2 separate regions of the Homo sapiens genome follow, and region 2 is linked to region 1. Evidence: promoter capture Hi-C in 16 types of primary human blood cells and fetal thymus (Javierre and others, 2016). All regions are on one chromosome and are shown on one strand. The core of a region is centred on a gene start or on the middle of the fragment in contact, and the rest is flanking DNA. Distances in the headings are between cores, read along the strand shown.

Evidence for each region. The method cuts DNA at HindIII sites, captures the fragments that hold promoters and counts their contacts. A CHiCAGO score of 5 or more calls a contact.
Region 2: a contact is called between a fragment that was not itself captured here and the fragment with the promoter of SORCS3 in region 1, in 1 of 17 cell types (M2 macrophages). The highest score is 5.7, in M2 macrophages.

The regions. Positions count from the first base shown.
Region 1 is chr10:104,636,654-104,644,251 of GRCh38, forward strand. SORCS3 (sortilin related VPS10 domain containing receptor 3) reads left to right here and starts at 4,637. Exons shown (of 27, transcript NM_014978.3): 1 at 4,637-5,301. The coding sequence starts at 4,675. The HindIII fragment of the contact is 3,039 bases long and covers 2,006-5,044 here.
Region 2 is chr10:104,919,200-104,926,797 of GRCh38, forward strand. The region is part of intron 3 of SORCS3 (sortilin related VPS10 domain containing receptor 3); the gene reads left to right. Among named protein-coding and RNA genes, the nearest start is that of SORCS3-AS1, 260 kb to the left of the region's middle. The HindIII fragment of the contact is 8,773 bases long and covers 1-7,598 here.

The DNA.
Region 1 (7,598 bases), core at 3,387-5,886:
AACAAAAAACAAAACAAAACAAAAAACCGGAAAGAAGACTTATTTGGGTGACATTTAGTGTAATCTCATGGATAACTTACAGTATACAGTTTGCTTTCTCCAGTTGTTTTTAACAGGGACAGAAGCCCTGGTGAGAAAATGCATTCCCAGTGGGCATTTGTTGCCGACCCTATGGGGACTGTGTGAGAGCTAATCCTCACTCTCAACCTGCCTTTCCCAGCTGAAGTAGGTATTATGTCAGCAAGGGAAATGGAAGCCCCCTTTAACCTTTGTCCTTTCTTTTAAATTCCAAATTGATATGGGACAGCTCCTATCTTATAGGAAGACAAAGAATTTGATGATGATGACATGATGATGGTAATAATAATGATATAATAACAAGTACTATGAGGCTGTGGAGGCAAGCTCCATGGAAGAGGATTCTTCCATGAAGAAGGGTTCTTACCATGAAGCCCCTTCCATGTTGAATACTGTGGCAGAGGACACATTCCAGGCTTAAGGAATACAGTAAGAAAGTTCATGGAGGTGGGGCAAGTACATGGAGCTTTGGATACCATTCTAAGAAGTTTGGATTTTATAAAAATGGTAGGTCATTGAAAAATTTTGAGGAGGGCAATTCATGATATAATCTTCCTTATGTTTTAAGAGGCTATTTCTGTCAACAGTGTGGAGCTGTGTTGTTTAAAACAGTAGCCACTAGTCACATGTGGTTATGAAATGTGGTAGTGAAAAAATGTGGGTGGTCTGAACGGAAATGTGCTGTAAGTATAAAATACACACTGGATTTTGAAGACTTGGTACAAAAATATGTAAAAATACATCAATAATTTTTATGTTGATTACAAATTGAAACTATTTTTGGTATCTTCAGTTCAATAAAAATTAAAGTTAATTTCATTGGTTCCTTTTTATTTCAATAAAGCTACTAGAAAGTTTAAAATTTCCTGTGTGGCTTACATTACATTTCTATTTGAAGGTGCCAGTGTGGAGGCTGGCTAGGAGAAGGAAAGAACCGAAGACCAGGAGAAGAGAGGAAACTATTGCAAAACCTTAGGCAAGAGATGTTGAGGGTCAGATATAAGGCAGTGACTCTAGGAATGAACAGGAGAGGAGTGGTAAAAAAAAAAAAAAAGGCTTTTTAAAATAGGACGAGACAAGTTATGGGTGTGGGGATCCAAAAGAGGGAGTCAAGCTTGCAAGTCAAGTGTCTAGTCTAGGTGACTAAGAAGATGTTGGGGTGATGGTTTTAGGTTTTGCTGCATATGGGTTTCAAGGTGAACACATAACACGTATGAAGCAATGAGGAAGTCAGGTGTGAAGCTCAAGAGGGGATGTGGTGAAGTTGTAGATCCAGGAGTCAACACCAGGAAATGGTAGTAGAAGGACAGAAATGGGCCTGATCTCCGGGCTCATTCAGACAAGGAGAAAGGGAAAACAGAATGAGAGCCAAGCACGGAGAATTGGGGAAAATGATGGAGGCTGGGGCTCAGAATTTAAGATGTGGATAAAAGAGGACAAGCTTGACTGAGGCTGGCCAGGGAGGACCCAGAAGATCCTAGTACCATGTAGATCAAAGGAGACCTTTTCAGATGGGACAAGTTTACACATGCGGGAAGAAGAGGTTGTTGAGTGAGGCTGTCAGGCGTGTTGGGGTAGGCCTTTGACTGAGTCGCCTAAAAGCAGATGTCAAATTGCAAAAAGTCCAGGAGTGAGGAAGAGGATACTGTGGGTTCAGGTGAGAACTACTGGGAGAAGTTTGGGCACTAGAGAAGGCTAATGGGGACTCGGAAGCAGGGGGTTGGAGGCAGGGGGCTGGGGGTGGGGGCAGGGGCAGCTCAGGGCTGAGGGCAAGGATTTTCAGGCAAAGGGTGAAGGAGGGAGAGGCTGCAGGTGGAAGAAGACTGTAATTGATGGGAGCAAGGCCAAGAAAACGAACTGGTGCAGGAGGCATGTGAAAATGTCACACTTGCGGGAGTCTTTCCTTTTTTGTTTGTTTTCAAACAAAAGCTTTTAAGCTACATCTCCTCAAGCCCATCCCAAGGATCCAACTCTGCCCGGGTTCCATCTGGTAGGGCCTTCTTCAGACAGGAGAGACAGAAGGAGGCCCCTCTCAGAGCGTCTGCCTCTTTTGCACCCGACTGCTCCTGCTCAGAGGCCGCGGGAAGCTGCGGGGACTGGATGGTGCACCTCCCCAGTGCGCATAGGACTTGGGAGACCACACTCCTCCGGGCTGTGTGAGCCTCGGGTCCGCCCAGATCTCTTATACTGTGGCACCTCCGCCCAGAGCCTGAAGAGAAGAGCAGCACCGCGTCCCTCCCGAACCCCGAGCTTCGGCTCGGGCTGCAGCGCCGGGCCTCCTCCGGCAGGGGCGCTGGGAACTCGCGGATGGCCGGCTCTCGTCCAGCGCCCGATCCCGCGCCCACCTGGGCCTGCGGCGCTGGAACTTTTCTTAGGAATACCCGCTACTCCCTGTCTTTGGAAACCCACAGATGCCAGGACCCGCACCATTCTGGGCCGGACGTTGTCGCTGGCTTGGTTCTTTGGCCCAGCCTCCCCCGCTGCTAATTGCCATTTTGGCACCGGGTGGAAAGGCAAGTTCAAGAGGGCGGGGGCTCTCGGGAATCGCTGGATGTCTTCTTCCTTGGCCAGCTTAGATTCTCAGTCGCCTCTTCTGCCTCCTCCATCCCTCTTGGCTCTTACCTGGCGCCCTTTCGCCTCCTCTTCTATCTCCCTCTTCCTTTTGCACCATTCTCTCGCCCCTTTTCTCCTTCATCTTGTCTTTCCTCTCTCCCCTTTTCCCTCTATTTTCTCCTTCATTCCTTCCTCTCACCTTTCTTTCCTCTCCGCGCATTCCCCTCCCTCTCGCTCCACTTTAACCATCTTCTAGAGAGGAGGAACTCTATCTACTCCCGAAGGGGAGGAGCAGGGCTGGAGGCTGTCTCTCTCTCCCTAAGCCTCCTCCCTCCTGCCTCCTCCTTTCTTAATAGCTCCTCCTCTAGCTCCTCTAGTCTCAGACTTTTCAACCCCTAGAATCCCAGGGGCTTCTCGGAGGCGGCGAGCTACACCACATGTCCTGGGGCCTGTAAACCGCAGCTCGAGGTCGTCTGTGGGTTTAGCTCATTTCCCTTCAGCCCACCTGAAGTCTCCTTCTTCCTACGGTCACGAAGGATCTCAGCTGCACCAAGCGCGCAGGCTACACTCCTGCAGTAGCGGATTGGGGACCAGATAAGCCCACGCGGCTCCCGCCTGAGTACCCTCTTAACTGGCGGCCGACACTTTGAAACAATTGAGTCCGTTCAGAAACGGACTGGGGAGAGTGAGGGCACGACCTCAAAATCCTAGGCAGCAAAATGAGGTCTGGATCCTCCCTGGAAGAACAGACATCTCGACTACTCTCTCGCCCCACCTCTGGCCGGGAGGTCGGGGCAAGGAGAATCCCTCAACCGAGAAGATCTGGCAAGTCCCCGATCCCACCGGGGCCTTCCGCCTCTTTTCCCTCATCCCCTAGGAGGCTTTATCAGGTTCTAACCGCTTGTAGTGGGGGCCGTGGGTGCTCGGGGCGCCAAGAGGAGGGGGCTGCCGAGAGCGGCCTGCCTAGTTCTCAGCATTGCCTCTTTGACCACTCGCAGGCTCCTGGAAATGCAAACACAGCCCGTGCGTGATCCGCACGCGACCAAAAGCCGAGCGCACACCTCCCGCCCCCGCCCCACTTGCCATCGCTCACACTAACGTGCACACATGCTCGTGCAAACGCGCACGCACGGAACCGCGCGCCCCCTCACACCCAGCCGCGCTCCCGGCCCGGCTCAGCCAGGTGCCCCCACGCGGCAGCGCCCGGTCTGCCCGCCGGCCCCCTGCGAACCCCTCGCCTCACGCCCGCCTGCCTGCGCGCACGCACGCGCACGCACGCATTCCCCACGCCCCCGCGCGGGGGCGCAGGCCTTGGGTGGCGGGGTTTGGCCGGGAGCCGGCCGGGCCAGGGAGCGGCGAGCAGAGTCCAGGGTGCATCCCGCGCTTGGCTTCCGTGCGCAGCCTCCCCGCGCGGAGGCACCTGGCTCCCTCTCGGCTCTAGAACGCGAACAGTTGGCGTTGAGCACACAACTCCTCCTCCTTCTCCCCCGAGACCCCTGTACCCTCCCCGCGCGCCATCTCCCGCCCCTCATAACAGGCCCGAAGAGTAAACCCCCAAACGCGTCCAGAAGCGGCTCCCAACTCTTCGCCGGGAGCACGTTGGAGGCTGGATTTCGGAGAGACTCGGGATTGGGGTCTATTGCCGGCCCCTCCTGGATCCGGCTTGATTTTCATATTTTAAGAAGATTTTCTTATTACCTTTGATTACTCCTTTTTACCAAATTTCTGGAGGAGCTCAGTGGGGAGGATTGGGGGGAATCTGATTTTAAGAAAGAAAGCACCGAAGGGGCAATTATTAATTTTCCTCGGGTTTGGAATCACCCTCTGGACAAGAGAACGGGCGAGCGGGAGCTAGGAGGGAAGAGTGGAGAGGACCGGCGAGGCGCGCCAGCCGGAGCCACCTCCTTCCCGGCCGCCCCCTCCCCACTCCCCCTACACACACACGCTCGCTCGCTCGCCGGCGCGCGCACACCCCCCGCGCCGGACCCGCACCTCGGCGGGCGCCACACACTCGGCAGCCCGAGCCGCGGTAGCCGCAGCGGGATGGAGGCGGCGCGCACGGAGCGCCCCGCAGGCAGGCCGGGGGCGCCGCTTGTCCGGACGGGGCTCCTACTCTTGTCGACGTGGGTCCTGGCCGGCGCCGAGATCACTTGGGACGCGACAGGCGGTCCCGGACGCCCGGCGGCCCCGGCTTCGCGGCCACCGGCGTTGTCTCCACTCTCGCCGCGGGCAGTGGCCAGCCAGTGGCCGGAGGAGCTGGCGTCGGCGCGGAGAGCCGCCGTGCTGGGGCGCCGGGCCGGACCAGAGCTGCTGCCCCAGCAGGGCGGCGGCAGAGGCGGTGAGATGCAGGTGGAAGCCGGAGGGACATCACCGGCAGGCGAGCGGCGGGGCCGGGGCATCCCAGCTCCTGCCAAGCTTGGCGGCGCGAGGAGGAGTCGCCGGGCGCAGCCCCCAATCACCCAGGAACGCGGGGACGCCTGGGCCACTGCTCCGGCCGATGGTTCCAGAGGAAGCCGTCCCCTTGCTAAGGGTTCCCGGGAGGAGGTGAAGGCGCCGCGGGCTGGGGGGTCGGCGGCTGAAGACCTCCGGCTGCCCAGCACCTCCTTCGCGCTGACCGGGGACTCGGCCCACAACCAAGCCATGGTGCACTGGTCGGGACACAACAGCAGCGTGAGTACCCACCCGGCGGCGGGTCCGCCTGTTTCCTGACACCGAAGGGGAATGGGGGGGTGGGTGGGAGCGAGGGACAGATAGTTGCTCGGGGGTCGAGGCGGGGGACGCCTCGACTTTTCGAGATAACAGGTTTGTCCGATTCCCCCCACGCCCCCAACAGGTTAACGGAGTTTGTTGTTAGACGCTGTGTGTGTTTGTTTACTGGAGACCCTAGGCTTCGGCCGCCGGGAGGGGAGTGGAGGAAGGGGCTTCTTAAAGATGAGTGGGGGAGGGATCTGTGCTCACTTTCTCCAATACTTGGCTTGGAGGGTCAGTTTTCCTGTTTGCGGGGTGCTTGAATTCTTGGATGAGAAAAAGGGCTGACTTGGGGCGGGAGCCGCTGAACAGACCGATTCCTGCGGCTGCCGGGCTCCCCCTACCCCCACCCCACCCCCACCCCCCCTCCCGTCACGCGAAAGGGAACCCGGAAGGCCATTCGGACTCCCAGCCTCCTGCTCGCCTCGGGGTCGCTGCTATCCGCTCCAGGCGCGCAGTCCTCCAGCCCAAGAGGGAGGCTCGGCCAAGTCGGCCCCCAGCCTTGGCCTTCAGGTAACCCCGGTTCCTCCTTCAAAGTCCAGGGAGCGGCCCTGGAAAGCCGTAGCAGAGGCCGTAAAAAAAAGTTTAAAGCGTGAAGCGAAATTCCACACCCATCCAGCGCTCATGCCACACCGCTCGCCCTCACGCACGCACAGGCACACGGAAGTCGCTCAGCAGAAAACTCTCGACTTCACCATTGCGTCCTGCGCCACAAACGGCTCCCTGAGCGGAGTTGGGTGCCTGAGCTTCCTGCACACCTCTCCACCCGCTTTTCCCCGCCACCGGGTTCTCCTGGACAAGGATGTACCGAGAGGTGGCGTCGTTGAGCCCGGTCTGGCCTACTCCGGCATTCCGAACTGGGCGCCCGACTGAGCATCGCGCCTGCCTGGCAGCTGCAGCGGCCCGCAGCGCGTGCCCGGAGGGGCTCCCCCTACCTCGCCGGCACCCAGCGCTGTGCAGCCAAGCAAAGAAAAGGCGGGGGACAGGTTCCCACCATCTCCCCGACTTCCCTCCCTCCCGCGGTCCCTACTAGAGCCAGATTTGGAAAATCCTTTCCTCTTCTCTGGCTCCATGGTTCAGATCAGAACCTGGCGTTGGGTAGGGTGCACGCTCCAGGCGGAGGATGACGGGTGTCTGTACAAGCAGCCTTGGGGAACTGATTTGATAGGAACTCACCCCGCAACTCCCTGCCGTTTTGTATTTCTCTTCATGACCGGTGTTTGACAAAATTTCTCTGGGAAATTTTTGCCTTATTTTAACAGAGCCTGGGATGTCCAGGATTGGGTATCTAATAAGAGGAAAGCGAGGGGTCCGCAGAAGGTAGTACATAAGCAATACCAAAGTGCAGATTTCTTGGTTTCTAATGATGCACAGCGCGGGCAGCCCAGCCTGGGTAGCCCATGCTGGTCTTGAAGGACCAGTGAAGTCCAGCTTCGCAGCAGCGCGATGGCGGGCTTCATCTGCCTGGGATGAAGACCCCCGTAGCCTCGGGCTGACAGCTCTGGCGAGAGGGGTGGACAATGTGTGCCTTTGCAGGGCTGGGTGATTGAAGACTTCCAAGTCCCTTCCAAGAGGACTTGGATATGTGTGTGCTGGGGGGAGATTCTCTGACCTCAGGGTTGATTCTCTGACAGCAGGGGTTGTGAATCCCAACTTCATTTTAGTTTGATAATTAGGGTGTGTGTGTGTGTGTGTGTGTGTGTGTGTGTGTGTTGGGGTTCTTACTTGGTGAGGAGGATGGATGGATGGATAGGATGTGTGGAAGTAAATATATCCTAGGAAGAGGAGGATGCAATGTCTTTACATCTGTGGCTTCCCTACTGCCACATTAGGACAATATAAATTCACCCTCCCTGAAGAGTTTTTCTGTGTCTCTGCTTTTATTTTAAGGATTATTTTTGAGTATTTACAAAGCCTCTGAAGATGGGACTTTAGAGAAAATGCTTCCTGCAAATAGCAGTTAACTGTGCATGGCCTTCTTTGCTCATCTTCAAAGCAGTTGTGCAGCAGAAGAGGTGAGGGGCAGGTCTGGCCCGTGCTCCCTGGGGAAATGACTCTTCAGTCAAATGACGGCCAAAGGGGCTTGGGGACTGGAGCAGTTGGGCTTGGAGACCTTGGTGACAGCAATGAGATTGGACAATGTATGAACAGCCCACAGGGACTTATTGGTTGTGCTCTTGGCCAGCCTTACTGCCCATGCAAGAGCACCACAGGTGGAT
Region 2 (7,598 bases), core at 2,415-4,914, 280 kb after region 1:
TAGTGCTCAATAAACAGAAGTTAGGCCTATTTTGTTGTCTGGTCTGAGAAACATCACCAAAGTGTAGTTAACTCCCATCTGGGAGGCACTGCCACCCAGAAAGTTAAACATACAGACATTTTCTTCACTCAGATTGGGGAAAAATAAGCAACAGGCCAATGGCATGGATTTTTTTTTTTTAGAAAATAGCAATAGAAATTAACGTTTGTAGCCAGGCACAGTGGCTCATGCCTGTAATCCCAGCACTTTGGGAGACTGAGGTGGGCAGATCACCTGAGGTCGGGAGTTCGAGACCAGCCTGACCAACATGGAGAAACCCTGTCTCTGCTAAAAATACAAAATTAGCCAGGCGTGGTGGTACATGCCGTAATCCCAGCTACTCAGGAGGCTGAGGCAGGAGAATCGCTTGAACCCAGGAGGTGGAGGTTGCGGTGAGCAGAGGTCACACCATTGCACTCCAGCCTGGGCAACAAGAGTGAAACTCCGTCTGAAGAAAAAAAAAAGAAATTAATGTTCATAAGGGTCCTACATGATCTAAAGTGCTTTCCTCATCATCCAAGAAAAAATGAAATTGGATTCATTTTCATTTTACTAAGTGGTATGTATTGTAATCTGAGCCTCTTGATGTTGACAGTGCACACGTAGTCTACATTCTAACTTTCTCGTAACCAGTATATTCAGCTTAGCAGAAATCCCCCTTCTCCAGCCACTTAGGCAAAAAGAAAATTTGATATAAATAAAAATACTCTTATTTGTTCCTTTATTAGTCTAGAGCTCTGGAACCATGTAACACAACTTCGTTTTTAAGTTTCCTTCTTTACGTCTTCAAGTTTAAACTTATGGTAATATGGATACTCATCTCAGCTTGTGTTAGGCAAGATGGTTTAGATTTGGTTAGTACCCAAATTATCTGTAGCAACCCATTTCATCAGTCAGCCAATGGCAGTAGTCTCTCGTGGATTTTTGAGTTCATCTTGTAGAAGCACTTGCTTTTCACCTAATGAGTTATTTATTTAACAGATGGCTGCTGCTTTCCTTGGAGGCTATGAATACATCAAATGAGATCTGTTGCCCCTGGCAAAACAGTAAATTGAGTTTGTATTCATGTAGTTGCTCCCAAAGCTAATTGTTGATTTTTTAAACAATTTTGAACAACATAAAATTATCCAAATACTGATAGTTAATTAACCATTAAGTTGGAAGGAAGCAGAGGTGTTAACCTGTGTATAGTTTCCTTCTACCAGTAATCATCCCAGGTAGCACTAACTGAGCAGCTACTATCCTAAACTCCCTTTTAAGAGTTTTATCCACATGATCTCTAATCCTCCCAGCCACTTTGAAAGTAGGCAGGGTAAGAAAATAGACTTTGATAAATTACCCCAAGACTATATTGCTATAAATGGTAGATCTACAGCAGCTTTCCCAATGGGTTTATTTTGAGGACAAATTAGTCATTCAGCAATTCTGGGCTTCCTGGAGGTAGCTGAGATTTAGACTGGGAGTACTGTCTTTATCACAGGCTGTGAGCAGGGTATAATCATTTCATCTAGCGGGTTTTATAATTCCCTGTCTAAATGAGAGTATTGATATGAAATGCACGAAGCTGCTTCAGTCAAAGTTGTCCTAGACTGCTGTTCTGTGGCATGGTGGCATCAGCATTATTTTAATGACCTTGACCCACTCTGACTATTTGATGTGAATTTTGTATACCCGGTTGTTTGCCTTTCTCCAGCCATTGGCCAATTAACTCATTGCCCAGGTTTGAGCCCAACTTCCTTATGGGAGCCCAGAATTGCTGAATGTGTCTGGTTGGTACTTGAAGATGAGGAATAGTATATTAGCTCTGGAAGCAAGAGAGTGTATGGTTTGCCTCCCAGAGGAGTGGCTCCATTATGGTGGGGCTAGTAAGCTCTAGCTCACAGCTTCTCCTTCCCCTTGCATGAGATAAACATCCCTGGGTTCCCAGAACTCATTACTGTCAGTTGTTTCTTGTCCTCAGGCCCATGCAGAATGGCAAGTGCCAAGGTCAAGTCTGCTGTGCTTTGTAAAAACAGGCTGAAGGCTTTGTGCCTTAACTAGAGAGGAGCCTGACTCCCATGGGCGAGCTTATTTGAGAATGAATCTTTGAGTGGACAGAGAAATGCAGGCATGTTATTGTCTAATTACTCTGGCTCCAAAGTGACTGCCACCTGCAACTTTGGAGACAGTGCATTGGAAATGGCAGAGAGCACACACTGGTCTAACAGCCAGAGAATGTGACCAAATTACTATAGTTAGAGGTACATGTCTCTCTCTCTCTCTCTCTGTGTGTGTGTGTGTGTGTGTGTGTGTGTGTGTGATGAAAACTATAAGGTCTGACATCAGTATAGGCTAATGAGTTCTTTCTATTGAGCTTCTAATAAGTTCTAGGCACTGGGCTAAGTTCCTTACTACACTTTATTCTAAGTTTTACTATTAATCTCCTGAGCGTGGTAGTTTTATCCTCATTTGACAGACGAAGAAACTGAGGCTCAAGCAGATAGACACTTAATTTTGGAAAATAGCTAATAAGAGGGGGTCCAGGATTCCTGTTCACCTCTATCTGCCCACAGGGTTGGTGCCACTACCACAGGTATAAAGACCAGGTGAGTTGTAATCATCACTCTATTAGTGGTAACCCTGTTGCCTGGGGTTTTCTGTTCATTAGTGTTAGAGGATTAGCAGTTTCTTGGAGGAGGAGGGGAATATTACATCCTGCATTCCTAATTGATTTACCAGTGAGAAGGATAATTACTTTCAGGCTACCCTGCAGAAATATAGTGGGAATTACCAGTGAGATTCTTACAGTGAGCAAGCTGCTTTTGTCAAGCTGTTCGAGAGGCACCGCGTGTGTGGTCGGAGGCTGGTTATGCCAATGTCGCTCTCTGGATACAACACATAACCCTGAACTATCTTTAAAATGCTGGAAAACCTTTAACCAAAACATAGCACAGAATTTTAAAATACCAGACTCCTAAGATAGTTGCAGGGTCAGGGAAAGTAAGTGGCAGGGTAACACATTTTCAGTCCACAAATATTAAAGTCTCTTACACTAAAGTAAGGCCAAAAAGGTGGAAAGGTAATTTTAGGCTGTTGAACAATCTTTTAAAAATGTCTACCTCTGAGCAAAGTATGTTTTGAGGGAGGGAGTTTCCTGCTTTCAGAAATGTGCAATTCACCTGGGCAGACAAGATGCACCGAAGAAAATGACTGCTACATAGACCTAGGTCTCAAATTCGGATGCATGCAGGGGCCAGAAGATAATGGCAAGGAAGATGTGGGCCAGGTAGAGACTTGGAAGCCCCTCTGTAAAGGGCCTTTTGCCATTAGGCTCCAAATGACTGTTGTCATGTGAAAATGAGGGCCCAGCATAGCCAGTTATTGTTAACATCCTTGCTATTATGTTCTGAGTTTTAAAGATATTTTTCTATATAGATTTTAATATGAAACATCCGTGTTTTGAAATATTTAGGAGGTGGAGTTCAGGGTTTGGGGGCTAACAGGCTGTACCAAATCTACTGTTATCCCTGTTTCCAGTTGGCAGCATGTGGCATATTCAAGTGGTAACTAAGTCTACAGGTGAAAAGTTGGTATTTGCAAAGTGGTCTTTAGAGTCACAGGAGAACACTTCGTAGACTCTCTTGCTGGGGACCTGCACTGATACCCTTATATGTGTGAGAGATAAACTAAGTCAAGTGTGGCTTACAAAGATTTCCCTTTGACTCAGAGGAAGCACATGGTTGATCCTTCAGTGCAAAGGGACTTTTTGTGTCATTGTAGGGTAAGACCACTAGAGTAGGGGTAGGGGGCAGATGTCTGCTTTCTGCTTCTGGTTTTGCCCCTGAGCAACTCAGTGTCTTTATATAGGCCACTTCCCTCCCAGGGCTTTCATTTCTCTATTTGTATAATGGCAAGTTTATGTTCTATGCTTTTCGAAGCCCCTTCCAGCTCAGGTCGTCTGGATGGCCACCATTTAGACAGTGTTTTTCAGAGGGCTTTGCAGTACCATGTGATGATCCACATTTAATTTCTGTGGCTCATTGGATAGCCAGTTGGGAAGTCCTTAGGAAGTGTAATCCTCATAGCTCTTAGTTATATGACTACATGTTGGCTGGCCAAGCCCTTAGGAAGTGTAATCCTCATAGCTCTTAGTTATATGACTACATGTTGGCTGGCCAAGCCCTGTTACCTGGGCTATCTTTTCTGAAGTTACAGTTCCTTGGTCAAAAGGTGGGTCCCTGAAACACACTGGCTCTGCTGGTAGAAGTCAGAGCAGCAGCACTACTTGCTGGCACAATTAAGGGGTTCTATCAGCATGAGCCAATGCAACTTCATAGGAGCATCACACGCATTACCCAGGGACGCTTAGCCCTCCTCCTGCAGGCAAGGGAGTTAGAGATGCTGCCTGTTCTGGTAACCCAGAATAGAGGACACCAAGTGTTGCAATAGGGAGTGGGAGCTTAGCTCTGCTGTACCACACTCCCTCCTTCATGGCCATTGACTTAATGACACATCAACCAGACATCTCTCCTCTGTGAGCCTTTCTTTTTCTCTTCGTAACATGTGCATAATAACCTGTCTGTTAAGGAGCAAAGAAGTCTCTGTTAGTGCTAGTATCTGTTTCTATTCATAAAGGCAACAAGTGTCTATGATAATAATGACAATGATAGTAAAAATAATAATACAAGAAGGAGCTAGAGTTTTTTGAGAGTTTGCTATGTGCTGAAAATTATCCTAAATGCTTCCAATGAATTAACTCATTTAATACTTCAACAGAAACTCTATGATGTTGGCACGATCATCATGCAATTTGCAGATGATGGATATTTGGTACTGAGATGTTAGCCATTTGCTCAGATTTGTTGCTGATGGTCATGTGCCTTGGTCTAATATGCTCATTTAACTCGTTTCCATTCATATTTAATTCTTAGACTCACTGCATATTGGAGCTTAAAGGGCTCTCGGAGACTGTGCAGACCCTCATTGAACAGAAGAGGCCACTCAGGGACTTGTCTGAGGTCATAGAGTCACTTGCCTCAGAGCTGGGGCGGGAGCAGTTTACAGACTCCTAGTCTAGTATTCTCTGCCAAGCCCATAAGGCTGGTGACAGCTGGAGAATTCTGATCTGATAGAGAACCTTGACTGAGAATAAGGTGAGCACAAATATGAAGTGGTAGGAAAATAGCATTCCACGTCGGTCCTGCTGAATGTCAGTTGTGTCTCTACGGCTTACAGAGATATCCACAGCCTCTCAGTACTCCACTCTCAAAGCCCAAAGGGTATTGCAGCTGGAATCTCATTTCAAATGAACCTGGGTGGGAAACCAAGGACTTGCATTCAAAACTGCCCAGAATGGTTGAGCAGCATGACAAAGGCCAAATGGCTTGATAAAGGAGCAAGAGGCTGGGTCCCTGGGAGGTGGGCTATCTGGGAAAAGAATCAGGATTTCTGTTTTAAGCCTTTCTGTTAACTACCTGTATGGCACTGAGAAGTCATTTAAATTCTCTGATCCTCACCTTCTCAATTTGTAAAATGGGGATAAAAGATCACTTACCTGTCCCCTTCTTTCAGAAGCATAACTAGCATGTTAGATATATTGTATGGGAGGGTTGTTAGCATTTTTTTATGAATTGTTCTTAATACTGTCCACTAGCTCCCATGCCTGGCCAGCAAAATGCTTTAATTTTTTTAAAAAAATTTACTTTAAGTTCTGGGATACATGTGCAGAACGTGCAGGTTTGTTACATAGGTATACATGTGCCATGGTGATTTGCTGTACCTATCAACCCGTCATCTAGGTTTTAAGCCCTGGCTGCATTAGATATTCTTCCTAATGCTCTCCCTCCCCTTTCCCCTGACAGGCCCCAGTGTGTGATGTTCCCCTCCCTGTGTTCATGTGTTCTCATTATTTAACTCCCACTATGAGTGAGAACATGCGATGTTTGATTTTCTGTTCCTGTGTTAGTTTGCTGAGAATGATGGTTTCCAGCTTCATCCATGTCCTTGCAAAGAAAATGAACTCAAAATGCTTTAATTTTTAACTGTAGAACACATGACTCGGTTGTCTTTTTCTCTTTTTTAAGAAAAGTAAATGCCGAATTAGGGGAATTAACATAGGCATGTTGCCTTATGTTAGAATGACCAGGTTAAACCACTTAATTTTTTTGTCCAAGGCAAACATGATATAAGGAATATGCACTACCAGAATAACTCCCCCTGGTGGCAGAAACCATGCTCCAAGCCCATCTGAGGCGCTGACTGCTTTTTGCCCCTTTTCAATGGGCATTGCCCTGATAGTGTGAATCCCATCAATTCAGCAGATGAGTGGGGAAATGAATATTTTCCCCCAAACCTTTAGGAAAAAGCAGGTTTTTGTTTGTTTGAGGCTTTTGGGTTTCTTTTTCCTCTTTTGTTTTTCATTTTTAAATCTTGAATGTTATTATTGAAGGCTGCAGGTATGGCAGACAATGAGCAGGTGAAGAACCAATGGTAAAGTGTCCCAAAACTGACATGTTAGCTAACAGGCTTCTGAATGAATTGCTGTGGTCCACAGAGGAGGCTGGAGAAGGTAGCAAGGAGATGCTGTATCAGTTACTACAGCCTTAAAACAAAGTTGGTGTCTCTTTGGACTTTCAAATTGCTCCTATGCAGCTTATTTTATTTTTGTTTAATCAAATAAGAGAGCCTTTCCATGGCAAAAAATAAAGAACATATCTAGGAAAAATGAGAGTTGTAATTTTGTTTGAAAGAAATGAGCTACAGAAACAGAAAGATTGTTACTACTGGGATGGAGCTGGCATCAAGATTGCAGACTGGAAGCCAGGGTCCGGCTGCCTGGCTGTGCCTTTAGTGCTGACCGCAGTGGCTGCTGGGCCTCCCCTCCTGAGCTGTGAGCTGCCTGCTTTCAGGCTTCCTTGGAGAGGATGCAGCTCCCAGAGGCTTGGATTTTTAAAGAGCCTCATGTCCTGCCTTATCCAGGAGGCATGCTGCCACTTTCTCTTTCCCCATCTTCTTCCTTGTCTCTTAAAACCAGACTTGCTGACTGCCTGAGAAAGACTGATTGTTCTGCTCATGGAGAGAAATGGTCCCACTTTTGTTAATTCACAGCCATCTCATTTTTTCCTGCTTCATAAATTAACATAGTTACCAAGCGGCTAGAGCAGTGTTTTGGAGATGGGTTTAGGGGAAAATGTATGAAAGGAAGAAGTAAAAAAAAAGGAAAAGAACAAAACATGAACCAAACCTCCCTCATTTACTGATTCCACGTCCAAATGTTTTTCTTCTTGGTGTATCCAGAAAAAGAACCAGAAAAGACTCCTTGCACCCCAAAAGGGAAAGTATCAGATCCCATTAGGGCTAAGAAAGCAGAAAGGAGAATCAATGAGGGGGCAGACACCGGTCTAGGAGTTTCCATCTGCCTTCGCAAGTGTGACCCAGCAATGGAATGGCTGCGAATGTGCTTCCATTCAAACTCATCACTTAAAGGAAAAAGAATCTAGAGTAATTCTTGGAAATTCAGTCTTAAGTCACAAATGTCTCTTTCTCAGCAAATATAGGTATATGGTTCTTTGTATAAATTA